5 separate regions of the Homo sapiens genome follow, and regions 1, 3, 4 and 5 are each linked to region 2. Evidence: promoter capture Hi-C in 16 types of primary human blood cells and fetal thymus (Javierre and others, 2016). All regions are on one chromosome and are shown on one strand. The core of a region is centred on a gene start or on the middle of the fragment in contact, and the rest is flanking DNA. Distances in the headings are between cores, read along the strand shown. Region 1 has its middle 68 kb from the start of PTGFRN. Region 2 holds the start of CD101 (CD101 molecule). Region 3 has its middle 24 kb from the start of CD2. Region 4 has its middle 37 kb from the start of PTGFRN. Region 5 overlaps CD2 (CD2 molecule).

The links. Contacts are between HindIII fragments. The CHiCAGO score rates a contact against its expected background, and 5 or more counts as called.
Region 1: a fragment that was not itself captured here is called in contact with the fragment with the promoter of CD101 in region 2 in 9 of 17 cell types (M0 macrophages, total CD8 T cells, M1 macrophages and 6 more); the score reaches 7.3 in M0 macrophages.
Region 3: a contact is called between a fragment that was not itself captured here and the fragment with the promoter of CD101 in region 2, in 3 of 17 cell types (naive CD4 T cells, total CD8 T cells and naive CD8 T cells). The highest score is 7.5, in naive CD4 T cells.
Region 4: a fragment that was not itself captured here is called in contact with the fragment with the promoter of CD101 in region 2 in 4 of 17 cell types (M1 macrophages, M0 macrophages, naive CD4 T cells and 1 more); the score reaches 6.1 in M1 macrophages.
Region 5: a contact is called between a fragment that was not itself captured here and the fragment with the promoter of CD101 in region 2, in 1 of 17 cell types (naive CD4 T cells). The highest score is 5.0, in naive CD4 T cells.

The regions. Positions count from the first base shown.
Region 1 is chr1:116,839,273-116,844,648 of GRCh38, reverse strand. No RefSeq gene overlaps it. Among named protein-coding and RNA genes, the nearest start is that of PTGFRN, 68 kb to the left of the region's middle. The HindIII fragment of the contact is 154 bases long and covers 2,254-2,407 here.
Region 2 is chr1:116,999,569-117,004,775 of GRCh38, reverse strand. It overlaps CD101 (CD101 molecule), which reads right to left and starts at 3,016. Exons shown (of 10, transcript NM_001256106.3): 1 at 2,916-3,016. The coding sequence starts at 2,958. The HindIII fragment of the contact is 2,275 bases long and covers 2,593-4,867 here.
Region 3 is chr1:116,775,719-116,781,343 of GRCh38, reverse strand. No RefSeq gene overlaps it. Among named protein-coding and RNA genes, the nearest start is that of CD2, 24 kb to the right of the region's middle. The HindIII fragment of the contact is 2,498 bases long and covers 906-3,403 here.
Region 4 is chr1:116,870,087-116,875,569 of GRCh38, reverse strand. No RefSeq gene overlaps it. Among named protein-coding and RNA genes, the nearest start is that of PTGFRN, 37 kb to the left of the region's middle. RefSeq lists an enhancer at 4,249-4,543. The HindIII fragment of the contact is 158 bases long and covers 2,955-3,112 here.
Region 5 is chr1:116,758,071-116,762,970 of GRCh38, reverse strand. It overlaps CD2 (CD2 molecule), which reads right to left. Exons shown (of 5, transcript NM_001767.5): 3 at 2,339-2,569. Among named protein-coding and RNA genes, the nearest start is that of CD2, 6.1 kb to the right of the region's middle. The HindIII fragment of the contact is 8,969 bases long and covers 1-4,900 here.

The DNA.
Region 1 (5,376 bases), core at 1,081-3,580, 160 kb after region 2:
TCTGATCCATCCATTATTACGTTCCCCATCAGCCTCTTATCTACTGACTTTAGCATCGATTGATGGTCAGTGCCTACATCTATTTTTTTAATTATAAAATATTCTAATTCTTTCATTCACTGCACATTTATTAGCTGGTATTCTTGTATACAGAAGAAGTTTTCCTCATCAACGATTTGCTTACTGTATGAATCAGAGTCCAGATAGGAGACAGAAACCACACGATGCTTAGAATAGGTAAATTTTATTTTATTTATTTTTTTGAGATGGAGTCTCACTCTGTCGCCCAGGGTGGAATGCAATGGCGTGATCTTGGCTCACTGCAACCTCTTCTTCCTGGGATCAAGAGATTCTCCTGCCTCAGCCTTCCTAGTAGCTGAGATTACAGGTGGCTGCAACCACACCCAGCTAATTTTTGTATTTTTAGTAGAGACAGAGTTTCACCATGTTGGTCAGGCTGGTCTCGAATTCCTGACCTCATTGATCCACCCGCCTCGGCCTCCCAAAGTGTTGGGATTACAGGTGTGAGCCACTGTGCCTGGCCTTAAAATAGGTAAATTTTAACATAAATTATTAAATAGAGATTAAGGAACTCTAAAGAATACAGGAATAGCAGAAACAGAGAACAGCCACTACTTCTAGAGTGCAGTCAGAGCACTCAAGGAAATAACAAACTGGAAGACAGTCCCTCATTCCCAATGATGGAGAGAGTGTGACTGTTCCATGGAGAGTGGAGATTGAATAGTGGAGATGTTCACTGAAGTACCTTAGGCTAGAGCTGGCAAGCAGGGAAATGCCCTGTGTTAGTCAGGGTTCTCCAGAGGGACTAATAGGATAGATGTATATATGAAAGGGAGTTTATTAAGGAGAATTGAGTCATGTGATCACAAAGTAAAGTCCCATCTGCAAGTTGAGGAGCAAGGAAGCCATTGGTGGATCAGTCCAAGTCCCAAAACCTCAAAAATAAGGAAGCTGACGGTGTAGTCTTCAGTCTGTGGCCAAAGGCCTGAGAGCCCCTGGCAAATCACTGGTGTAAGTCCAAGAGTCCAAAAGCTGAAGAACTTGGAGTCTGATGTTCAAAGGCAGAAAGCATTCAGCACAAGAGAAAGAAGAAGGCCAGAAGACTCGGCAAGCCTGCTTGTCTATCTTCTCCTGCCTGCTTTATTCTAGCTGCGCTGGCAGCTGATTAGATTGTGCCCGCCAGATTAAGGGTGGGTCTGCCTTCCCCAGCCCACTGACTCAAATGTTAATCTCCTTTGGCAACACCCTCACAGACACACCCAGAAACAATACTTTGCATCCTTTAATCCGATCAAGTTCACACTAAGTGTTAACCATCACATGCCCACTGTGGGGCTGACAAAGCTTGATAGAAAGTTCTCCACAAGGCCAGGCATGGTGGCTCATTCCTGTAATCCCAGCACTCTGGGAGGCCAAGATGTGCAGATCACCTAAGGTCAGGAGTTCAAGATCAGCCTGGCCAATATAGTGAAATCTGGTCTCTACTAAAAAATACGAAAATTAGCTGGGCATGGTGGCAGGTATCTGTAGTTCTAGCTGCTTGGGAGGCCGAGACAGGGAGAGTTGCTTCAACCCTGGAGGTGGAGGTTGCAGTGAGCAGAGATCATTCCACTGCACTCCAGCCTGGGCAACAGAGTGAGACTCCGTCTCAAAAAAAAAAAGTTATCCGCAAGTGTACTGCTAAAACTAACTGGGGCATCCGCCACACTGTTGGTCGTTGTGCACTGCAGGAGCAAGGAGGAAAGCACACTGAGCCAGAAAAACTCCTTCCTCCTGCAATTTCCCTCCAGCACCCTCCACTGGCAAAAATGTTTAACATTATGTCAGCTGTTGATAGGAGAAATGTTTACAGGGTACAGCACCAGAATTGCAAAGCAGAGCAAAGAGTGGGCTTTGAGCTGAGAGATAGCACATTGATACCTGGCATACTGTGAAGCATAGTTCATACAGGAAAGGCAGGACAAATGCTTGGTCTGTCCCTTTATTCTCCAGTTTTCTAAATAAGTTAGGGTCCTGGAAACTTCCAAAGAGTACTCTAATAATTTCTGTCGTAATTGTTTTAAAAGCATTATGAACTCATGAATTTAAACATGTTTGAAGTGTTCAATCTGCTACAGTTATTATTCTTTTTGATTGGTAGCATATATTTTTAACTGATCCAGTGTATAAAGAATGTATGCTATCTTTCCTTTAGTGTTTAGAGGAGGAAAGATGAAAAACTATCTCAAAGCTTCTGGACACAAAAATCCTTATAGCATAGATACTTATAACATAAAGGGATCAGAACTGGGAAGGTTTTTTTTCTGTTAGTTCAAGAATTACCCTGAAACATGTGAGAAATCTTGCCCTTGAATGCACACTAGCTATAAAGTAAGGAAAGGAAGCTTTCTTAATCACAGATAGTTAGCTTGTCAGAGCTTTCCAACTGACATGTCATAAGCCATATACATATTAATGCTTTCAGTGTGTGCTATGAGGTGACAAAGGTTGGGAAACACTGGATTAAATGACTGAGGCAAATTTTATGTTCTAAAGGTGGCTGAAACAACATTTTTCACCTCGTGTGCTCTTTCACAATGTGACCTTGTACTACTCCATCAAGAGGTAGAGCCTACTTCCCTTCCCCTTGAATCTAGTCTGTCTAATTATTCATTTGTAACCAATACAATGAAGTAGAAGTGTGCTACGTGATTTCTTCAGCCATGTCAGAAAAAGTCTTGCAGCTACTGCCTGGTTCTTATGAGATGCTTGTCCTGAGGGAAGCTAGATGCTAGGTATGAAGTCCAACTACCCTGAGTTAGCTATATGGGAAAGGCCACATGTGAGTTCCCCAGTTGACAGCTTAATCAGCCACCATCACCTGCCAATCATGTGAATGAGACATGCTGGACATCCAGTCCTGTTGAATCTTCAGATGACTTCAGCTCCAGGTAACATCTGACTGTAACCACAAGAGAGATGCCAAGTGAGAAGTCCTAGGCACAGCCTTTTCAAAATTTTTGACCCACAAAATCATGAGTGAAATAATATGGTAGTTTTGGTAAGGTGTAGTAGCTCATGCCTGTAATCTCAACACTTTGGGAGGCAGAGGCGGGTGGATCACCTGAAGTCAGGAGTTTCATACCAGCCTGGCCAACATGGTGAAACCCCATCTCTGCTAAAAAAATTAGCCAGGCATGGGGGCAGGTGCCTGTAATCTCAGCTACCCAGGAGGCTGAGGCAGGAGAATTGCTTGAACCTAGGAGGTGGAGGTGACAGTGAGCCGAGATCCTGCTACTGCACTACAGCCTGGGCAGCAGAGCCAGACTCTGTCTCAAAAAAAAACTAAAAAAAGGCTGGACACGGTGGCTCACGCCTGTAATCCCAGCCCTTTGGGAGGCCGAGGCAGGTGGATCACGAAGTCAGGAGTTCAAGACCAGCCTGGCCAAGATGGTGAAACCCTGTCTCTACTAAAAATACAAAAATTAGCCAGGCGTGGTGGTGGGCACCTGTAATCCTAGCTACTCGGGAGGCTGAAGCAGGGAATTGCTTGAACCTGGGAGGCAGAGGTTGCAGTGAGCCAAGATCGGGCCACTGCACTCCAGCCTGGGCGACAGAGCGAGACTCTGTCTCAAAAACAAACAAACAAACAAACAAACAAAACAACAACAAAAAAACCCCACAAAATAATATAGTAGTTTTAAGGTGTTGTTTTGGACTAATTTATATCTCAGAAATAGTAGCTGGAATAAAGACCTCAAAGGCCTTCCCTACGTAGGTGACAGATCAAGATTGCATGTATACTTATGCATTATATGTACTATACAGAAGAGATTTTATAAATAAGGACCTAGTTCTTCTAGGCTCTGATCTGAGGGTCCCTCGAGTCCGCGGGCAAGCCCTGGTCATTTTTTGATAGGCGTCAAGTATCCTGAGTCACCTGTCTCGTCGTCTGGTATGACCTACTACACTTTCCAGGGCACTTATTGGAGTTTGAAGTTCTTCACTCATTCTGGCTAATAGCAGAAGAGGACCAGTGGCTTTCCTTCTAACATATCCCGTTATTTTAGCTGTTAGAAGAATATGTGGTTCTTGCAGAGGCAACGGGATGTGGAAGAAGGAGCATGAAATCTAGAGTCAAAAGACCTCGGCTCAAGATCCAATTAATTCACTTATAGCTGCATGACCTTAAAGAGTTTAACAGCCCTAGCCTCAGTTTCCCCATTTGAAAATAAGAAAAATAATTTGTGTCTCATAGAGATGTTGTGAGGATTAAATGAGACAATATTTATGAAACCCTAGGAGTTTCAACCAGTTTGTTTGCATTTCTTTTATTATTTTTATGCCTTTTCATTTTATTTTTAGAAAATTAAAAAATATAGAAAGTACAAAAAAGAAAAGAAGTATCATTCATATTCTTACAACTGGGAATTACCACCATTAATATGGTGATTAATTTATTTCCAGTTCTTTTTTTTTTTTTTTTTTTGAGATGGAGTCTTGCACCGTTGCCTGGGCTGGAGTGCAATGGTGTAATCTCGGCTCACTGCAACCTCCACCTCTCCACCTCCTGAGTTCACACAATTCTCCTCCCTCAGCCTCCTGAGTAGCTGGGATGACAGTGCCCACCACCACACCTAGCTAATTTTTTGTATATTTGGTAGAGATGGGGTTTCACCATCTTGGTCAGACTGGTCTCAAATTCCTGATCTCATGATCCACCTGCTTTGGCCTCCCAAAGTGCTGGGATTACAGGCATGAGCCACCGTGCCCAGGCTTCCAGTCCTTTTTTATTTAACCAGTCTGCTGTTTGTTTTTGAAAAACTGAGAAATATAATGTATATATTATAAATTATTCAATCATGCAAAAGAGTGCTCTCAAATATGGAGTGCTTTATGAAGGTATAAGGCATCTGGTGCAGGGGCCATAATAATCTCTGTATTATTCCAATATTTTAATTACTTAATTTATTAATTAATTTATTTTTGAGATGGGTGTCTTACTATGTTGCCCAGCCTGGTCTCAAATTCTTGGGCTCAAGTGATCCTCTAACCTCAGCCTCCTGAGTGGCTGGAATTACAGATGTGCACTACCACACCTGGCTCCAATGTTTTACCATTTTACTCCCTGTGATGTCCAAGTCAGCATGCTGGCACACTTTTAAATACTAGGATTTTTATTGGTACATATGAAGAAATGCAGTGATATCTACTGCCATCCTCCTGGTCTTTTGACTGTCCTTAACCCTAGGGTCACAATTTGAGTACAATTATTCCCTGCCTTGGCTGGACACATATCCTCAGGGGGCAATGTTCTCCATTTTGAGTCAAATTGAGAAATGTCTTTGCCACCACCTCGCCCTCTACCACTTTTTG
Region 2 (5,207 bases), core at 1,767-4,266:
AGGTATTTTTCAGGTAGAAGGCATGACTGGCAGAGATCAACTCAAATGGCTATGCACTGGGGCCATAAGCTTAAGCATCTTACTATAAATATATTCTCTCTGGGTTTTTTCAAGTACATATCATCCACCCTCCGAAAAACACCTGTGAGGACTGCCCTCTTGCTCTCTCTTTTAATGGGTAGAGGGTTAGCTACTTTTGAATAGTAGCTCATATTCTTGTTGGCTGATGAGTACAAAGCTTGGCACTGACATACTAACATTAGAATCATGCTTTCAAAACACCAAAAATTCCTCGATGGTATTGACTTTCTTTAAAAATATCACTGGAATTGTCAAATTTACCACTGCAGTATTATTTGAATGAAAACGATTAGGTTGAACTGTATAAAATGGTCCATACTTGAGCACTTTTTATACCAAAAAAACAGCAGTTTCAAATAATGCTACCTTATACAAAACCTACCTCAGGAATAGCCAACATAACAAGCAGCTTCTTTCTCTTTTCACATTCAAAAACCCTATATGCTTGGAGGCTGAGATAGCTTCCATCCATACTAAGTGGAATCTTTTTTATTTTTCATGAATGCAAACTCAGTAAGACAGACAATAGCCCTTCCCCCAAACCCTGCCATATTAATGGCCATTATTTGTAGGGCAGCTAGTTTGGGTGGGGGAAATAGATCAAGCAGACAAAGCTAACTGCTAAATCCGAGAACTCATTTACCCATGACATTAATCTCATATGGCACCATTTTCTATCAGGATTGTTCAGTCCTTATATTTACTAAAAAAAAATTGGGACAAAGTGTAAATTTGCTAACCAATGTAATTGATCAATAGATCGTTATTTAAATAATTTATTTCAATTCCCCTCTATATTTGTAAGGACAAACAGCAGACTTCTAAAGCTTTTTCCAGTAACTTCCTGATTTATGTATTCTTCACATAAAAACTGTGCTTCTACACAAAATTAGTGCTTCAGATGAGTCAGAATTTAGAAGAAGTAAATGTATAACCCAGTTTAGGTAATTGTTTAAATGGGTTAAGGAAAAGCTTCCAGCTTCCCCTTTTTGAGCCTTGATTACTACTTTCCTTCCCCCAGGGCTTCTAGCCTGCTTACCAAAAAAAGAGACAGAATTTGCAATTCTATGAATTATTGCACAATGTAAACCCAGTTTCCTCCTATATACATAGCAAACATAGAATTCAAATACACAAAGCACATACACTTGAGAATCACACTCAGACAACTTAACCAAACAACAAAAACACACCAGCCCCCAAAGGATCCCACCAGTGCACCTATCCATCAACACCCGCCAAGCCAGTCTGGCAGGCATCCGTCACCCAGCAAGTGGTCCCAGTAACTTCCCCTGCAGGCCCTAGGTCTGACTCTTAACCTCACACTATCATATGTACCTAGAGACATGAGCACAATTCAACTCAATCAATGTTTATTAAGCAACCTCTTTGTGCTGAATGCTGTATTCTTTTCTTTTAATTCTTCAGCCATAGTCCTGGTCACACCAAATGCAGCTTGGTTTAGTTCCCCAATCATCCCAGCCATTCGGGTCCCTGCACTGGCTCCATCCAGTCTCTCTAAAGCAAGAGTTTTGTTTGTTTGTTTGTTTTTTTAGATGGAATCTCACTCTGTCACCCAGGCTGGAGTGCAGTGGCTCAATCTTGGCTCACTGCAACCTCCACCTCCCAGGTTCAAGCGATTCTCCCACCTCAGCCTCCCAAGTAGCTAGGGCCACAGGTATGTGCCACCATGCCCAGCTATAAAGCAAGAGTTCTTAACTGGGTCCACATGTAGGATTAAAGGGTCCATAAACTAGGGTGAAAAATAATCTTACATCTTTATTTTCATTTTTGCCTCTAATGGAAATTTAGTATTTTCTTCAGTTATGTATGTAGACAACCACAGATATCTTCATATCACATTACAACTACTTAAGATATATTGAAATGTTATTTATACTCATCATTACTTTGAAGTTTGGTGGTTAAAAGACCTACCTGTAGATTTTGTTATGTAATGCATAAATAAGAAGCAAATAAATTACTGCATTATAATTTATTTAAAATATTTTGATACCTGTATTTCAATGTGACTGATTTCCTCTGTAATTCTATGCATTTTATTTTATGCATTTTAAACATTATTCTGAGATGGAGTCTATTCTCTTTACCAGATGTTAATGAAAACTGTAGCATAAAAAGTACCTGCTATCTGGTTTGAAACTATTCCATTACCTGCTCAACTCATCTGACTCTCCCTTCTACCTCCAAATTTTCTCTTCTTCCATCCTATTCAAACATAGATAAATGCCCCTAGATCAGGCAAGCCCCTCTGCATGGCCCTCAGTAGAGCCAAGTGAATCTTCCTGTTCATTTCTCAGTCTCTCAGTAGTCAATTTCCACTTCCACTCGCAGGTGAAATCTAGAACCTTCTTTTAGCATAGTCTAAAACTACTAAGTACTTTCATAACCTTTCTTTCCATCCAGTCATATCTGCAAGGCATAGTTATCCCATCAAGCCTTAATATCAGGCAAACCTTAAGGTCTCCTCTCAGTTTGGGACACAAAGCTTTTTTACTGTCTCTTGGGATGATCGGCCCAGGAAGATGAGTAAAGCCAGGGCCAAGCAAAACTGACAGATCTGGCAACACACACAAATGTTAAAACCAATGGAATCTTGTGCATGGGACTCAACCAAGCATTGTGACTCCCTGGAACTCAAGGATGTCTAGGTAAGCCAAGAACTGTCATTAGTAAGTCAAAAATTATTGCTAACATCAGAAATATATGGCATAGTTGTTCCTGTAGAGACCAAATTGTCCTGTTCCATCACTCAGCACCCTGAGTTGATGAACTCCTGTGACAAGAGAAACATAAAGGATTATGAAACTTACTCAGAAGGAGAAAGAAAGATGCCACATATGAGATGCCTGCCATTTGGGCCAGCACAGTCCTTTTTCGTCCCAATAGTGTCACTAACATTCAGAGGTTGAGTGACAAATGCTGTGCTCTCACTGCAAAGTAAAGAGGAAGCAAAAGTGTGGTTTTCAGCCCACTGAGAAATAGAGATGTCTTGTGAAAAGCAAAACTGGTTACATTATGTAGCTCTTTACTAATCACTCAAATTTGGGAGTAAAAAAGTTATCTTTGTGGTTAAGTAAACAGATATCGATAAAACTAAGAAAAGATGGGTCTCAACCTGGCTCACAGTATGTGTCATTTGGTAATGATGAGAGAATTTAGGTAAACTGAATAAATAAAAAAGGCACCAGCAATGTTGTCTTCTTGGCCCTTCCTTCTCCTCCTCTCTTGAGAGAGGAAATGACTGAGAAATGGGAGAAGGCCCCTGAAAAACATGAACTTGGGGCGACATGAGGTGGTGCTGAAGGTTACAGGCTCTAGAGTCAGGCTGCCTGGGTTTGCATGCAGATTCTAGTTTTAGTAACTGTGCAATCTTAGAAAACTTAATTAACTTTTCCTAACCCTCATTGCTAAAATGAGGATACTAATAGTAGGTACCCTGTAAGATTACTGTGAATGCCAAATGAGCTAATTTTTTAATTATTTTTTTATTTCTTTTTTTTTGTATTTTACTTTTTTTTATTATTATTATACTTTAAGTTCTAGGGTACATGTGCACAACGTGCAAATTTGTTACATATGTATACATGTGCCATGTTGGTGTGCTGCACCCATTAACTCGTCATTTACATTAGGTATATCTCCTAATGCTTTCCCTCCCCCTTCCCCCGACCCTATGACAGGCCCCGGTGTGTGATGTTCCCCTTCCTGTGTCCAAGTGTTCTCACTGTTCAATTCCCACCTATGAGTGAGAACATGCAGTGTTTGGTTTTTTGTTCTTGAGATAGTTTGCTGAGAATGATAGTTTCAAGCTAATTTATTTAAAGCACTTAGAACAATATCTGGTACATAGTAACTGCTCAATGAATATTAGCTACCATCATCACCATCATGAGACATTTAAGTAAATCTTCATCTGCCCTGTGAAACTGCCTTTGCAAAAATTGTAACAGTGAGAAAGTTATGACAGTGAAAGGGATCTGACCTCACCATCTCCATCTTGCTTCTAACTTCCAAGCTGCCCTTGTTAATTCCTGGTTGTAGGCCAAACTAACTTTGGGAGGAATTTAGCTTAGTTTAATTTTGAAACAAAGAGGATAACAGCCCTTTCTGGAAACAAACCCCCTTCTTGCCTGGGGAGCAGACTTCCCTAGTAAGACTAACAAATTAGCCACAACATTAGAAATTATGGTTTAGGAGTCATGCAGCCAGAGGCCACACAATTCCAACCTCCCCAACTGTTCCTAGGGATAACATCACTATTGTAAAACCTAAATTGGTGCTCAAGGTATTTTTCAGACCCTGCATCCTGATGCACCAGCTGACACCATCCAGGCTGGTGATCTGGTTCCACCAGTTCTTTGATCCCACTTAGGAACGGAAGACTGCAAGAACCCCCTTTGATCCCCTGTGATTTCATCTCCTACCTGACCAATCAGCACTCCCCACTCCCTGGCCTGCCAAATTATCCTTACTAACTCCAGTCTCTGAATTTCCGGGGAGACTGATTTGAGTAATAAAACTCTGGTTTCCCATTTAGCTGGTTCTGTGTGAATTAAACTCTTTCTCTATTGCAATTCTCCTGTCTTGATAAGTCTGTTCTATCTGGGCAGCAGGCAAGGAGAAACCTGTTGGGCAGTTACGCTAATGGGCAGTTACACCGATGTGAACCCAGGTATCAAGGATGGCAGAGGAGTATCTAAATGCAACAGTTGGCCCTGAACCTAGACTAATACTACGCTAGTGCTAGAGTTCTCAGGAAGCTTCCACTTAAATCAGATAATCACAATGCAATGTGTCAACAATCAGTGGGGCACCTATAGGGGGTGGGGAAAATTGGTAGGCAGGAGGGAAGGTCAAGATGGATTGGGCTGGGCCAGGTGAGTCAATGAGTCATCTAGAGAGGCAGGGGGCCAAGGTACAGTTGGGGAAAAACCGTGTGGCATGAATAGTAACACACAGGCTGTACTATCTTGTTGGAATGAAGTTTGAGGTTGTTGTGAAAGAAGGATCTATACAGGTAGGATGGGCAGATCTTAGTGGGCTTCGTGTGCCAAGCCTAAGAGCTTGGCTTTTATTAATACCTCAAAGAAGAGGGAAGCTAT
Region 3 (5,625 bases), core at 905-3,404, 220 kb after region 2:
TGACCTCGTGATCTGCCCGCCTCAACCTCCCAAAGTGCTGGGGATTATAGGCGTGAGCCATCGCTCCCAGCCAGTACTTTTAAAAATGTATTAATTTATTACATTTTAATTATTAATTAAATTTGTATTGTATAATTATTACAATATTAATTATTAATTTTAAAACCTCTGCTGTGTCTGTGGTTATTTCCCCATTTGCATTCAGTTTTTAAATTTGTACTTTCTACCTCTTTTTTTTTCACTTTAGTAGCCTTGTCACATCTATCTTATTAATCTTTCTGAAACACCAGTTTAAGGTTTTATTAATCTTCTCTGTTTTGTTGTTGTTTTTCTCTAGGTCATTGATATCTGTTCTATCTTTGTTATTATTTCTTTCTTTCTGTTTCTTTGCTTGTCCCTTCCCTGTATTCTTGAGTATTACTCTTTGTTTTCAATCTGTCTTATATCTTGATAAATGTAATTAAAGCTATACATCTGTCTCTAAAACCTACTGTAGATGTGGTCTTCAAATTTTGAAGTGTTTTCATTACCAGTTTTATATATTTATTAGCTTCATTTGTTATTATTATTTTATTATCAGAACTTTCATTTTACTGTTAGACCAACTATTAATAATTGTTTTCTGGGTTTTCTAGAAATAATGCATTTCTAGAAAAAAATTCTATTTCTAGAAATAACATAGTTTTGGAAAAATGTTCTCTAGTAATCTAACAGTTTTTTCACTATGCTTTTGAAAAATATTTTATAATTTTAATTCATTATGATTGAAAAATATATTCTTGATAACATTCATTCATTAGACTTTCTTGTAACTTTCTTTGTGGATTAATATATGATTAATTTTTAAAATTGTTTCATATATGCCCAAAAAGATTGTGTGTTTTCTGTTGGATATAAATAAAGCTTATTAATTAAAATACTCAGATTTCTATATCACTGCTTTTTCTCTGCTAAACCTATTCATTTCTGAAGACTCCATTTCCTCCTCAATAATTTTTTTGTGTTAAAACTTCCAATTAAAATGATTAATTTATTTATTTGCTATGAAGTTCTGTCGATTACCTTATTTTTTTGTTGCAATATTGTCAGGTGCATATGTGTTTGCTCTACTATTCTTTCAACAAGTATGGTTTCCTTTTTTGTCCTTTGAATTTTTCTATTAGATATTAAGATTGTTGCTTCAGCTTTCTTTTGGATCATATTTTCTTTATTTTCAAACTTTTTGTATTCTTTTGTTGTAAAGTTGTCTTCTGTAAACAGTATATTGTTGGATCTTTCAAAATGCTCAATTTGAGATGTTCTCTTTTGATTGGTTGTTTAACCTATTTACATTTCTCATAATCACTTTATATTATTACTTATTTCTTCCATTTTATTTCATGTTTTTCATTACTGATACTTTTTTTTCTTTTCTAATTTTACTCTTCACTGAGTAGATACGATTTTCTTTTGCTGGTTTAAAAGAACGTATTTTATTTTTGTTTTTATGGTCTTTGCTCTTAAGACATATTTGTTTATTTATTCATCCTGACTTACTAAACTTATAAATACCTATTTCTTTCCTCCAATAAGGCAAGTAGTTTAGCATGTTCTCTTATGTCTCTGGACTCTTCTTTCTCTCTCCCCCACCAATACATATAACAACAACAACAATAACACACACACAACTGATATGGTCTAGACAGAATTTAGTTCTGGGTTTTTATGAATATGGTTTTTAATTTGTGTTTTCATCACACTTTGATTTTTTAAGATAACAATTAATTTGCCAAATTATTTAATCACCCTAACTTCACATTTCTATACAACATCTGTTGTATTTATTTTCCTCTAATTTGAATATTTCTTCCAAGGGTTTTTCAAAGTAAGTTTTTGTATGACATAGGTTCTGAGATTTTGTATACCAGAAACTATGGTTGTTAAGTCCAGAATTTTTAAATTGTATCTTCATGTTTCATGTCAATTTGTCTGTATGTAAAATTCAATGTACAGTAGACCCTTTGAAAACTTGAGTGTGAACTGCAGGGGTCCACTTATATGCAGATTTTTTTCAACCAAATTAGATAAAAAATATGGTATTTGTGGGATATGAAACCCACACATACAGGCAGCCGACTTTTCATATACATGGGTGGGTTCTACAGGGCCAACTGCAGGACTTGAGCATGTGCAGACGTGGATATATATATGGGGGTTCTGGAACCAATCCCCCACATAAACCTAGGGATGACTGCACAACACTTTAAAAATATTACTTCTTTGTCTTCTTGCATCCAGCATTGTTACTGAGAGGTCTCAGGTCAATCTAATGCTTGTTCTTTTGTATGTTTTTCTCTCTGAAAACATTCTAAAAATTTCTTGCAGTCTTTGATGATTCTAATTCTCAGTAAAATGTCTAATTTTGGGGTTTTCTCTCTCTCTCTCTTTGGCTCTATATTATAGGCTCAATTTTCAACTTTATGTTTTTCTCCCTATGGAATCTCTATTATCTGAATACTGATATTTTTATCCTTCATATCCCTATTGTTTCTTTTCTTTTTTTAAAGAAAAGCTGTTTTACTTTCCCCTGCATTCTTGCATAGGTCTTTGCAATGATCTTGCAGGTTCCTAATTCAGTCCTTAGCTGTATCTATCCTGATTCATACTTCAGCTATTATGCATTTTGTTTCAACAGTTATATTTTTCATACCTGATATTTCTTCTTGGTTGTTCTTGCATCATATTGCTAACATCCTCCCTGATCAAGTTTTTGACAAGCCAATGAACCAGCTTGTACTGCTGGTACCTTCCTCCACAACTGTAAACTACAGAACTATAGCAGAGAAAAGCTACAAAAGAGAAATAATCATGGACATGATAAACTAACATATAATTGAGAACCCTCTGAGAAGACTGAAGGCTCTTTTGAACCAGAATGTGAGCAAGCACATGTTGGGGGATGGGTGTCTGCAAACTGGGGCAGAGAAGGAAAGGACAGGGGAGAGCTGGTAAACTCTCTACTTGTTCACTCCCGTCCTGCCTCATCACCACAGCAATCATCAGCAACAGTGTAGTTGGTCCAGTGGTGGAAAAGGGGATATGAGAAGAGGTAATCTGAAGACAGTGCAAAAAGAAAGAAAAGGAAAAGTCTATACAGCCGATTCTCACTATTCATGGTAGTTATGCTCTGTAAAGTTATTGCAAACACTGACTTAGCAAACTGAAACATTGCTCCCAGGGGAAATACAGGGTTAGATTCCTGTGAGCCTTAACACTGAGTGAGTAAACAGTGAGTCAACTGATCAATACAAAACCTAATTTTATGTGTGTTTCTGTTTAAAGACATCTTATTTGAGATATATTGTTGATGCATTAACATTGAACTCATGGCCACCAGCACTATGACTCATGCCTCAGAAAAGCTTGTATAACACATGTTTTCTCTATAAGCCACATGCATAGTTGATAGTTTGCCTAGAATACTAAGCTGAAAATTCCCCAGAATTTGAAAGCATCGCTTTGTTGTCTTCTAGCTTCCAGTATAGTTGTTGAGAAATCCAGTGCTATTCTAATTCTTTCTAATTCTTGATACTTGGTATGGTGTCTCTCTCTGTCTCTCTCTCCACTGCCTTTTTTCTTCTTCCTTCCCCTTACCCCTTTTCCTCTCTCCCCTTCTAATCTTTGTCCCAGTGTTCTGAAGTTTTACAATCATATATCTTGGTGTGAATACATTTTCTTTCATGGTGCTAGGTCCTTGGTAAGCACTTTAAAAAAATAGACTTTATTTTTCAGAACAGTTTTAGATTTACAGCATAATTCAGAGGAAGTTATAGAAATTTCCCATATCCCCCCTATCTCCGCCAACACACATAGCCTTCCCCATTATCAACATCCCCAACCAAGACTGGTGCATTTTTTAACAATCGATAAGTCTACATTGACAAATCATTATCACCTAAAGCCCATAGTTTACAATAAGGTTCACTCTTGACGTACATTCTGAGTTTGAACAAATGTGTAAAGGCAAGTATCCACCATTATAGTATCAATCAAAGTATTCTCAAATCTCTGAAAAGTATCTGTCTCCTGCTATGTATCCCTTCCTGCCATCTGACACCTAGCGACCACTAATCTTTTTACCGTTGCCACAGTTTTGCCTTTTCCAGAGTGTCATATAGTTGGAATCATATGGTATGTGTAGACATTTTAGATTGGCTCCTTTCACTTAGTAATATGCATCTAAGTCTTCCATGTCTTTTCATGGCTTGATAGCTAACTTTTTTTTTTTTTTTTTTTGAGATGGAGTCTCACTCTGTCATCCAGGCTGGAGTGCAGTAGTGCAATCTCGGCTCACTGCAATCTCTACCTCCTGGGTTCAAGTGATTCTCCTGTCTCAGCCTCCCGAGTAGCTGGGACTAAGGTGCATGCCACCATGCCTGGCTAATTTTTGCATTTTTAGAAGAGAGACGGTTTCACCATGTTGGCCAGGCTGGTCTGGAACTCCTGACCTCAAGTGATCCACCTGCCTCGGCCTGCCAAAGTGCTAGGCTTACAGGTGTGAGCCACCATGCCTGGCCGATAGCTCACTTTTTTCACACTGACTAATATTTCGTTGTTTGGATGTACCACAGTTTATTTATCCGTTCACTTACTGAAGGACACCTTGGTTGCTTCCAAGTGGTGTCATTATAAATAAAGGTGCTCTGGGCATGTGTGGGCAGTCTTTTGTAGGAACAAGTTTTCAACTTCTTTCGGTAAATACCAAGGAATATGACTGCTGGATTGTATGGGGAAAGTATGTACAGTTTTATAAGAAACTGCCAAACTGTCTTTAAAAGTGGCTGTACCATTTGCATTCCCACCAGCAATGTTTGAGAGTTCCTGTTGCTCCACATCCTCACTGGCATTTAGTGTTGTCAGTATTCTGGACTTTGGCCATTCTAATAGGTATGTAGCGGTATTCTCATTGTTGTTTTAATTTGCATTTTTCCTGATGACATATGATATAGAGCATCTCTTTGTGTGCTTAGGTGTTTGCCATCTGTATATCTCCTTTGGTGAGGTGTCTGTCAAGGTCTTTGGTCATTTTTAATCTGGTTGCTTGTTTTCTTATTGTTGAGTTTTAAGAGTTCTTTGTATATTTTGAATAATAATCCTTTAACTGGCATGTCTTTTGCAAATAATTTCTCATAGCCTGTGGCTTGTCTTTTCATTTTCTTGACTGTCTTTCACAGAGCAAAAAAATGTTAATTTAATTTAATTTAATTTAATTTAATTTTCAGACAAGGTCTTGCTCTGTCGCCCAGGTTGGAGTGCAGTGGCATGATCACGGCTCATGGCAACCTCTGCCTCCCTAGCTGAGGTGGTCCTCCTACCACAGCCTCCCTAGTAGCTGGGACTACAGGTGTGTACCACCCTGCTGGGCTAGTTTTTTAAGAAAATTTTTATAGAAACAGGGTCTTACTATATTGCCCAGGCTGGTATCAAACTCCTAGGCTCAAACAATCTTCCCGCCTTGACCTCCCAAAGTGCTGGGATTACAGGCGTGATCCACTAAACCTACCCAAGAAAATTTTAACCTTAATGACGTCTAGCTTATTAATTTTTTCTTTCATGGATCTTGCCTTAGATGTTGTATCTAAAGAG
Region 4 (5,483 bases), core at 1,784-4,283, 130 kb after region 2:
TGGAGTTGGGCTTGGGGCAGTTAGAGGAGAGCCTGGTCCGTCGTCAAGCAACTCGACTCCAGGGGAAAACCATTTCCCTTCTGGCTCACCCATCTGCTGAAAGCTACTTCCACTCAATAAAAAAACCTTGCACCCATTCTCCAAGCCCGCCAGTACACCAAGGCAAGAACCTCGGGATACAGAAAGCCTTCTGTCCTTGCAACAAGGTAGAGGGTCTAATTGAGCTGGTTAACACAAGCTGCCTATAGACGGCCAAACTAAAAGAGCACCCTGTAACACGCGCCCACTGGGGCTTCAGGAGCTGTAAACATCCACCCCTAGACACTGCAGTGGGGTCGGAGCCCCACAGCTTGCCTCTCTGTATGCTCCCCTAGAGGTTTAACAGCCGCTCACTGAAGAAGCGAGCCACATCCCCATCGCGCGCCCTGCAAGGGGGGCAAGGGAACTTTTCTCATTTCAGTACCAAGAGTGGGGCTGAGGGCTGGTGGTTATTGTTGCAAAATCCTCAATTCCATGAGCAGCAGAAGTGTAGAAAACTACAGCTAAATCTGTCCAATTGTTAAGATATTAGGGAAGTGGTACAGGCTATGCTCTCTGCCTTTGGCCTGCCATCTAAATTGACTAACCTAGGCTGGGCAACATAGCAAGACTGTTACAAAATTTTTTTTTAATTAGCCAGATGTAGTGGTGTGTGTCTGTAGTCCCAGCTACCCAGGAAGCTGAAGTGGGAGGATTGCTTGAGCCCAAGAGTTCAAGGTTATAGTAAACTATGACTGTACCACTGCATTCCAGCCTGGCTGACACAGTGAGAAACTGTCTCAGAAAATAAGAGGTCAGGAGTTCAAGACCAGCCTGGCCAACATAGTGAAACCCCATCTCTACTAAAAATACAACAATTAGCCAGGCATGGTGGCGCATGCCTGTAGTCCTAGCTACTTGGGAGGCTGAGGCAGGAGAATGGCTTGATCCTGGGAGGTGGAGGTTGCAGTGAGCTGAGATCGTGCCATTGCACTCCAGCCTGGGCGACAGAGACAGACCCCATCTCAAAAAAAAAAATTAATAATAAAAATAAAATGCTATTAAAAACTGTCTGCTAGACAATGGGTGACAACTTAGCTGTTACTATCCAATTAAAGCTGTTGCTTTCCTTCCAAAACTCAACTAGCTGCCATTAAACTGGGGCAAAGGGTGGGCAGAGGACAAAGGTCTGAAAGATCTGAGTCTTTCAGTTTAAAAACCATTTTTAGACAAGATATTTGGCTATTGTTACTCGCACATGGAACTGATGGAAGGCAAATGGAAAAGATGCCTACTTAGTTTTTGAGGGAATTGTACTGCCAAGCATCCAAGCCTAATCTGCCAAAGCCTGTGACTATTCAATGCCTAAAGCAACCTTTGTGCCTCCAACTATGTATTAACAAGAAACAGGCTATGAAAGCTGTGCAGCAGTCCTCCCACCCCAAAGGGCAAACTCATCACTTCCTGCCTCAGACATAACCATGGGGAATAATGGACACAGAAGCACCTCCCACAGGACGGACGGCTGACTCCTGATGTTTAAGAAGAGAGTCCCCTCTGTTCTTGCTCAGCAGGATTTGATAATTACTATAGATCGACTTCTGGGACTTTCACATTTTCTGACTGGTAGTTTTAATTGTGGTTTTCTTGTTCTTACTACATCACTGCATATGTAGTGGGTTATGGGAAAGATAACTAATCTTTTAGTTTATGGTTTGTGCTATGGTTTGAATATGGCTCCTCCAAAATTCATGTTGAAACTTAATCCCCAATGTCATCATAGTAAGGGGTCGGGGGGTAGTCTTCAGCAGGTGACGACATCACGAATGAAATTAGTACCCTTATAAGAGGGCCTGAAGGGAGTCTGGCCCTTTTTTGCCCTCCCACCATGTGACAATTCAGCAATAGGTGCCATCTTCGAGGCAGAGAGCCCTCACCAGACACTAAATTTGCTGGTGCCTTAATCTTCGACTTCCTAACCTCCAGAATTGTAAGAAATAAATTTATATTATTTATAAAGTACACAGTCTAAGGTATTTTGTTATTGCAACCTGAACAGACTAAAACAGCTTGCAAGATTGTGAACATCATATCTGGATTTGAAGACGGAGACTACACTTCACTCAGAGATCTTGACTTTGATCTGGAGGCAGTCCCTGGGTTTCTTCCCCTTGAGGAGGGATTGTGTCCTACATGGGGATGCCCATATATTTGGGGAGGCCAAAGGGATAAACTGTAGCAGAGAGACTGTTTAATTGTCTCACAACATTTGTTTTCTTCTATTTTAAAGTATTAGGACCTTAAATGTTTAGCTAGGCACCTGCTGCTAGAAGGACTGCTTCCCAGTCTTCTTGATTCTCTCCCGGTCATGGGATTAACGTTTGGTTAGTTAGATGTAAGTAGAAGTAGTGTGAGCAACTTCTGGAAAGTGTTCTTAAAGGCAGGGAGCTTTTCCTGCTCTCTACCTTTTTCTTCTTTCTCCTGGATGGAATGGGATATGCGGGATGGAGCTCAAGCATTCATTTTGGACGATAGGATGATTTAGGAAGTGGAGATTATGCAGTTAAGGCAGAAAAATAAAAATAAAAAAAATCTGATTCCCTGCACTGTGGAGCCCTTTACCATCTGTGGACTACCTATTCAGGCTTATATGAAAGAGAAATAAACTTTCATGTTGTTTAAGCCACTGGTTTTTTTTTTTGTTATTGTTTTTTAAGGGAGGTGAAGGTGTTGGGGAGTAGGGAGAGTTCAATATCCTGCTGCCAAACCTAATCCTAACTAATTCATGACAAGTTACTTTTTTGAGTTACTCCAGTTTCCCTGAAATGGGCAGATCTGGGGGCCAAAGACCAAAGTGGTTTAGAGAGACCACAAATTGAAGTAAACATGATGCCATCTTATTCTGTGACATGTCAGTTAGAGGAGAATTCCAAGCTTAGGGAATTTGCATTCTGTCATACCACAATTTATATCATCATCAGTATCTCTAGGAAAAAGGGTTACCTATCTCTCTTTGTACTGAGACACTGGAACTTTAGAAACCCAAATTCATTTATTCCTATGGGTTTTAGCCAAGGAACTTGCCTGCAAAGCTTCCTGATTAGACAACCGTCTGCCAGGTTGGTTTGGGAAAAAGTGCTCAACTGGCACAGAATATCTATGGCTCTGGAAAATGACTAAACTATTCCAAACGGTTTTAAAAGCAAATCCATTTTTAATATCTCAACAACTGTTTCAATTTTGTTCTACCTAGTTTGGTATAAATCTATTTTTAATTTCTAGCTCCTTACAGCCTCAATTGACTTCAGTTTTTATGTGGAAATTTTTATATCTTATTTCTTCCAAATTCTACTTTATTAATTTGATGCAGTTGTAGTCTGCCTCTGATTCCACGTAATTACTTAATCATTTCACTATAATATTGACTCAAAGATTTTGTTATTGGTTACCTAAATATTACTAGTTCCCTTCCATTTCCTCTCTTGCACAATGACAGCGCTTGTTTATAAACCTGCTTTGAAATCACCAAGGGTGAGGAGCAACATCAAGATAAAGTACTGTGTTGTTCTTTCCTTGGAAATATGCCTTGGCTTAAATTTGAACTTGGGGTATAAATTGTAGAAGATTCTGCCAAGAGCGCTCCAGTTCTGATATGTGGCGTTAGTTGAATTTCTGCTTCCAAGCAGGTTATTATGCAACTTGAGGGAGATGGGAAAGAAGGGTCAGGCAGGAAAGGATGGATTTTATTCCCGGGCTATAATACTGTCATCATATTCAGAAATCCACATCTCCTTTTCTCCTTCCTTTTCTGCTGTCTCCTTTCCTTCCTCATTTTCTTTTTTGTAAATTTTCCAGTTACTTCCCTCCCACCATCTCCCCTCCCTTTCTGCCTTCCTTCATCCCACAAGTATTCACTGAATACCCTGGTAGTTAATCTTTAAAGATGGTGCCTCGCCAGGCGCCATGGCTCACGCCTGTAATCCCAGCACTTTGGGAGGCTGAGGTGGGTGGATCATGAGGTCAGGGGTTTGAGACCAGACTGGCCAACGTAGTGAAACCCCATCTCTACTAAAAATACAAAAAATTAGCCGGATGTCGTGGCGAGTGCCTGTAATCCCAGCTACTCGGGAGGCTGAGGCAGGAGACTCGCTTGAACCTGGGAGGTGGAAGTTGCAGTGAACCGAGATCATGCCACTGCACTCCAGCCTGGTGATGGAAAGAGACTCTGTCTCAGAAAAAAAAAAAGAAAAAGAAAAAAGTTGGTGCCCCCAGTGAACTTGGAGGGGTCACATGTAGGCACTCCAGACAGTGGGCGGAGCTGAACTCCTGGCCAGTAGCCAGCATCCTGTGTCAGCCAAGTCTATCAGATGACTCCCGTCCCAGCTGCCATTTGACTCCAACCACATGAGAGATTCCCAAGGAAGAACCACCCAGTTGAGCCCAGTCAGCCTATGAGATTGTGAGATTCTAATAAACTGTTGTTTCAAGTCCCTGTATTTTAGGATGGCTTATGATGCAGCAATAGATCATTGAAATGAGCATTTACTATGAACCAGGCACTGTTCTAGAACCTGGAGAGTAAACAAAACAAAAATCTGTGCCCTCATATACCCATATGCTAATGAGAGATAGTCAATAAAAAAGATAAATATACAAAGGGTAATAAAAGCCAAGAAGAAAAAAAACAAAGAAAGGGAATATGAAGCATGGAGATGGTGGAGATGTTTTGGTTAGGTAGCCAGGAAAGGACTCACTCAGAAGATGACTTTTGAGTACAGAACTAAGAGAAGTGGGGAATCAGGCATATGGTTATCTGGGGGAAGAGTGTCTTGGGGGAGCAAATAGTAACTGCAAAGTTCCTGGTGTGGGCATCTGTCTGGTATATAGTCAAGGAACAGCACAGAGGCCAGCGTAGATAGGGCAGAATGAACAAGGGGGAGGTAGTTGGCAATGAGGTTGAAGAGGCAAGGGGTGCAGATCAGTAGGGTCCCGCAGGACAGAGGAAGGACTTTGGCCTTCATTCCCGATGAGAGCCTCTGGAAGACTTTGAGCTGAGGAGTGATGTCATTTGGCTCATGATTTAACAAGATCACTCTGGTTGTTCTGTTGAAACAAGAGAAAGCCAGGGCAGAAACAGGCCCATTAGCAGCGTTTGTGATCATGCAGGAGAGAGACGATGGTGACTGCGATCGGGGGGTGGCAGGGGTAAATGGTGAGGGAAAGGGTACATTCTAGGTTTATTTTGAAAGTATGATTGATAAATGTCTGGGCGCAGTGGCTCACACCTGTAATCCCAGCACTTTGGGAAGCCAAGGCAGGCAGATCACTTGAGCTCAGGAGTTTGAGATCAGCCTGGCCAACATAGCGAAACTCCGTCTCTATTAAAAATACAAAAATTAACCAGGCATGGTGGTGCATGCCAGTAGTCCCAGCTACACAGGAGGCTTGATAAGAGAATTGCTTGA
Region 5 (4,900 bases), core at 254-2,753, 240 kb after region 2:
ATGGCTAAGTCATGCAGCCACCAGCTCCATCTTCCCTCCAAGTCATCGGGTAGGGTGGCCACAATTTTATCTTGGGCACATGCAGGAATGTAGGCAATGCCTTACACAGCCTGCTCTCCAGTTTGTCCAGGGTGGTGCCCTGGGGCACCTGGTAGTACTTTTGGTGGGGAATGTTCCATCATGTTTCAGAAGCAGCGGTGGCACTGTCAGTCAAAAATATGCCCTCCCAGTTCCTAAATCCAGGCATACTATCTTCCAACAGTATCTCTTGGAGATCACATGCCCATGAGTTTATGTGACAAATTATTTTTGTGCATCTGAATCTGTTCCTTCCTCCTAGTATTTTGATTTTAAGTATGTAAACACTCACCTAATCTGAGCCAAATGGTCAGACTCTGACCATTGCTCCTCTCTGCCTTGGCCTTTCAGAATAAAACTTCCAAATCCCTTTTCGGGTCTTCAAGAGCAGCTCCTCCACCCTAATCTCTCCCCAGGTATTCTTCCCATCTCCCTAGTGGTCCTTCTCGCAATGAGCTTCTGCTCTGCACCATAGAGTAAGGGACATAAGTGTTCCAGCCTTCAAACCTTGGCTGCTCCCAAGGTCCTCCCTCTCTCCCTCCTTCCATCCCTAATACACACACATATTTATACTTGTGGGCTCCAGTTAAAATAAACATGAAAAGTAGGGTTGCCAGATATAATGCAAAACACCCAGTTAAATTTGAATTTCAGATAAACAATGAAAAATTTCTTGCATAAGTATGTTCCATGCAATATCTGAAACGTACTTATGCTGTATTTTTATTTGCTATATCTGGCAACTCTAATCAAAGATCTCCCGAGGCCACTGCAGTGACTCATGCCTATAATCCCAGCACTTTGGGAGGCTGAGGTGGGAGGATAGTTTGAGCACAGGAGTTCGAGACCAGCCTGGGCAACAGAGTGAGACCTTATCTCTACAAAATTTTAAAAATTAGCTGGGTGTGGTGGCATGCTCCTGTAATCTCAGCTACTGGGGAGGCTGAGGTGGGAGGATTGCTTGAGCCTGGGAGGTGGAGGCTGCTGAGAGCTATGATCATACTACCACACTCCAGCCTTGGCAACAGAGCAAAACCCTGTCTCAAAAAAAGTTGCGAAGTCAAGGAGAGGCAACTTCACTTACTGTGCCTTAGTGATGGGGGAATGTGGGAGGATGACTGGTGGGAAAACCGGGGGTGAAGTGATGCTGGTCAAGTTGGTGATTGGCAGACTCTCAGATGCCTTCAATGACCCCTGCTTCCTGGTATTCTCACCTATGTGCAATCCCCTCTGATTGAATGTGGGCTAGACTTATTAACTTGCTTCTAATGAACAGAACACAGCAGAAGTGATTGGGATATTACTCCTGAGATTAAGTTACAAAAAGACCACGACTTTTGTCCTGGGCACTTATTCCTGCTCTTTCTTAGAGGGCTCTGAGGGAAGCTAGCTGCCATATTGTGAGGCAGCCCAACGGCCCACATGAATGAACTTGGAAGTGGATCCAAGAGCCTACTCATCTAATAGTCTGTGAACATGGTGCTTATTTTCTTTGTGGGCCAGGAAGCTGAAGCCTAGAGAGGGGAAGAAACTCTGTCAAGATTCTCTGGCTAAATTTGGACAGACCCAAACTAGAAGTCCAGACCTCTACTCCCAGGCGAGAGCTTGGGCACTATAGAAGGCTGCCTCTCAGAAATACTTCTGGAGGTCACATCAGGCTGGGACACTGGGGATCCATTATGGTCTTGGAGTTTTGAGATTTTCTGGAGCTAGTCCCCAAGCCTTGCCGTCCTGTTGTGTGCCAGGAGTGTTGCCTTGCTGTCCACAGTCCTCTTTGGCCTCAAGGGCTCCATTCCCCCATGACCCTGCCCCCCAGGGTTTCTGCAGCCTTTCTACCTTTACTCCTGATGGGAGGTGCTGACCACTAACCATCTTTAGGGGAGCAGTTGGAATCATGTCACTAACTAGCCAAGGGACCTTGGGCAAGTCAGTTTCCCTCTCTGGAAAATGGGGCTTTGCATGAGATACTCTCTACAGCTCCTCCTTCTTCAGTTTTGCAATTCTTTCTCCTAGAAGAGGATCTTTAAAATTTCTTGTGGTCAAATTGTGCTCAGTGGGAGGACTCCCAGGATGGAAAACCATAGAACACCACCTCCCCTGATGCTTCCCTTGAAGGTTTCCAGGAGGAAGAGATATGCTTTCATGCCTCATCCTGAGCCAGGGCTGCCTCCCAGCATGAGCACCTGTGACCTGGAGCAGCATGCCTCTGCCTACTGAGGGCCTGGCAGGCTGTGTTTGTGAAGTGATGCCCGCCACGCACCTGGACAGCTGACAGGCTCGACACTGGATTCCTTGCTGACTTTGTTCCCTGCTGTGCACTTGAATTTTGCACTCAGGCTGGTGGTCCACTTGTGTGTGATGACCCTCTGAGAAAGTTTTAGATGTTTCCCATCTTGATACAGGTTTAATTCGGGGTCAGTTCCATTCATTACCTCACAGGTCAGGGTTGTGTTGATACAAGTCCAGGAGATCTTTGGTTTTGAGACCCTCTCTAAAAAGAAAGTAAAGATTCAGTTCAATTTAGGCAATTTTCTGATTTTAATAAACATATCTATTTATACAGTGGGGGATGGAGTCAGTTAGGGACAAGGGAACAATGTCAAAGACCTCTAGCAACTTTTGGAAATTATTTTATTTTATTTTATTTACAAAGAGCATTCAGAAAAAAATTATTTCTGATGACATTCACAGATACATTATGCCACTAAATAGTGTATCATATGTAATGTTTATATGCTGTCTTATACCTTAAAATGCTTTCACATATATGACATCACTTAACCCTAACAGACAGGCTGATGTTTTTCTTCCCATTTACAGACAAAATGTTCAAGGCTCTGAGAGGTCCAGTAGGTGGTCTTGGGGCACCACCTAAAACATGGCAGTCAGGGTTTAGGAGTATGGGTAAGAAAGTGCCTCCAGAGTTTGAGAAAGGCAATGCTTTAACAGCAGCCAGGAACCCCATCCTGGAGGAATCACCACATTGACATGTGACTGGGGACCTTGGATACCTCTGCCCCCACCAAGTTCCTGGAGCAGTGGGCCAGGTGGGTATATGTGAGTGTGTGGGTGTCCAAGGAGCTCAAAGCTCTAGGGAAAAAGAGCACCTGCCTGGGAACCAGAGACTTGATTCTGCCTTTTCCCAGCCCAGAGCTGCTCAGTTGCTCACAGGGTCTACGCTGGCCCTCCTCAGAGCATCAGAAAAGGATCAGAAAAACATACCCTACCTGTCACAAAAGGAGCAACATGTGGCAAAGCCCTGGGCAGATCGTTAGGCACTGACATTATTAGTGGTAATTCATGCATTCGATAATCACAAACCTCTTGCCTCTCCCGCACAGAGATTGCACCACAAAAGGAAAATGCCTAGGCCTAGCATTAGATGGCTCAGGTCTACATCTTAGCCCCATCACTTCCTAGCTGTGTGAACTTTTCCTTTTCCTCGTCTTCTGTTTTTTTTTTTTCTCATTCTTTACTTTGTTCCCCCCAGACTTGCCACTTTTCCCTCTCAGTTTCTCTCCATTCATAATATAGATGGACTAGCTTATTTTTCAATGATTCCCTCCCACTCTGACTTCCAGACACCAATATTTTCCCCATGGAACACCATAGTCAAACTTCATTTATGTCCCGATATATATAGGCATGCAGAAATTAAATTAAAAGTTTTCTTCTCATCCCAAGATTCTGCGTTACTGAGAAGGAAGAAAATGGAAATTATCAACATTCAGCAACAGAGTTAGTACATAGTCTAGAGGTTGGGTCACGAAGTTTGCCCGTCTCTTCAGAATGGAAATATTTTTTTTCTACTTATAACAGCAACACAGTAACATGATTGTGGTGATGGTTGCAAAACTCTGAATATACTAAAGGCCGTTTTAGTGTATGGACAAATTGAATGATAGGTGAATTATCTCAATGAAGCTGTTTAGAAAAAAAAGAAAAGGTCATCATCCTTGCCAAAAAGACCTCTGAGTTTGAATCCTGACTTTGCTCCTGTCAAGCAATGAGACCTTGGACAAGCTGCTTCTGACTAGGTCTCTGTTTTCTTATATATAACAAGGAGATAATAACAACTAGGTCTCAGTATTGTTGGGCGCTTTAAATAAGATCATGTAAGCAAGCACTTGACCCCTAACTGGTAGCCATTATTTCCGCCGCAATGCTAAATGTGACCCAAATGTGAAAACACCAACATGGTCCCCCATGTAGGGCTCACACTCAAAACAGGACACTCGAGTTCTGTGCTGTTTGGAGTCCTGAGATCTGTGGTTTCCAGAGCCCATAATCAGAGGCTCTTTTCAGCGCCATGCTCAACCCCACTACATTTCTACAAGGTGCTCTCCACTCAAGGTTGCAGGACTAGGGTGTGGAAAGTTGTCACTTCAGGGGAGCTGACAGTGTCTGGGATTGCTGGAGTGGGCAATCTGACACTATCTGGGATTGCTGGTAGGCCCAGGTGCTGAAGATGGGGCTGGAGACAGAGAGGAAGAAGGTGGGGTCCCTGCTTCTGGCGACATTTTCTGTGTGAAGCACAGAAATGCTTATTTGCTCACTGAATGGCTGGCCTGTGCTCATGCTGGGGTTCCTGTCTTCCTCCCCAAGCCAGCTTCCTCTTTTCCCTTCTTATCACTCCCTGCCCAGCATCCGTGGGCTTTCAACTCCAATCATTGTACAAGCTGATAAAATATTTTTAAAAGTTTAAAGCAGATTAAAAATTACCCACAACGCCACCACTCAAAGTCAATAATGAATAATATTTTCATGTATATCTTTAGCAGATATTTTCTATTTATATGTATATATATAAATAATATAATAT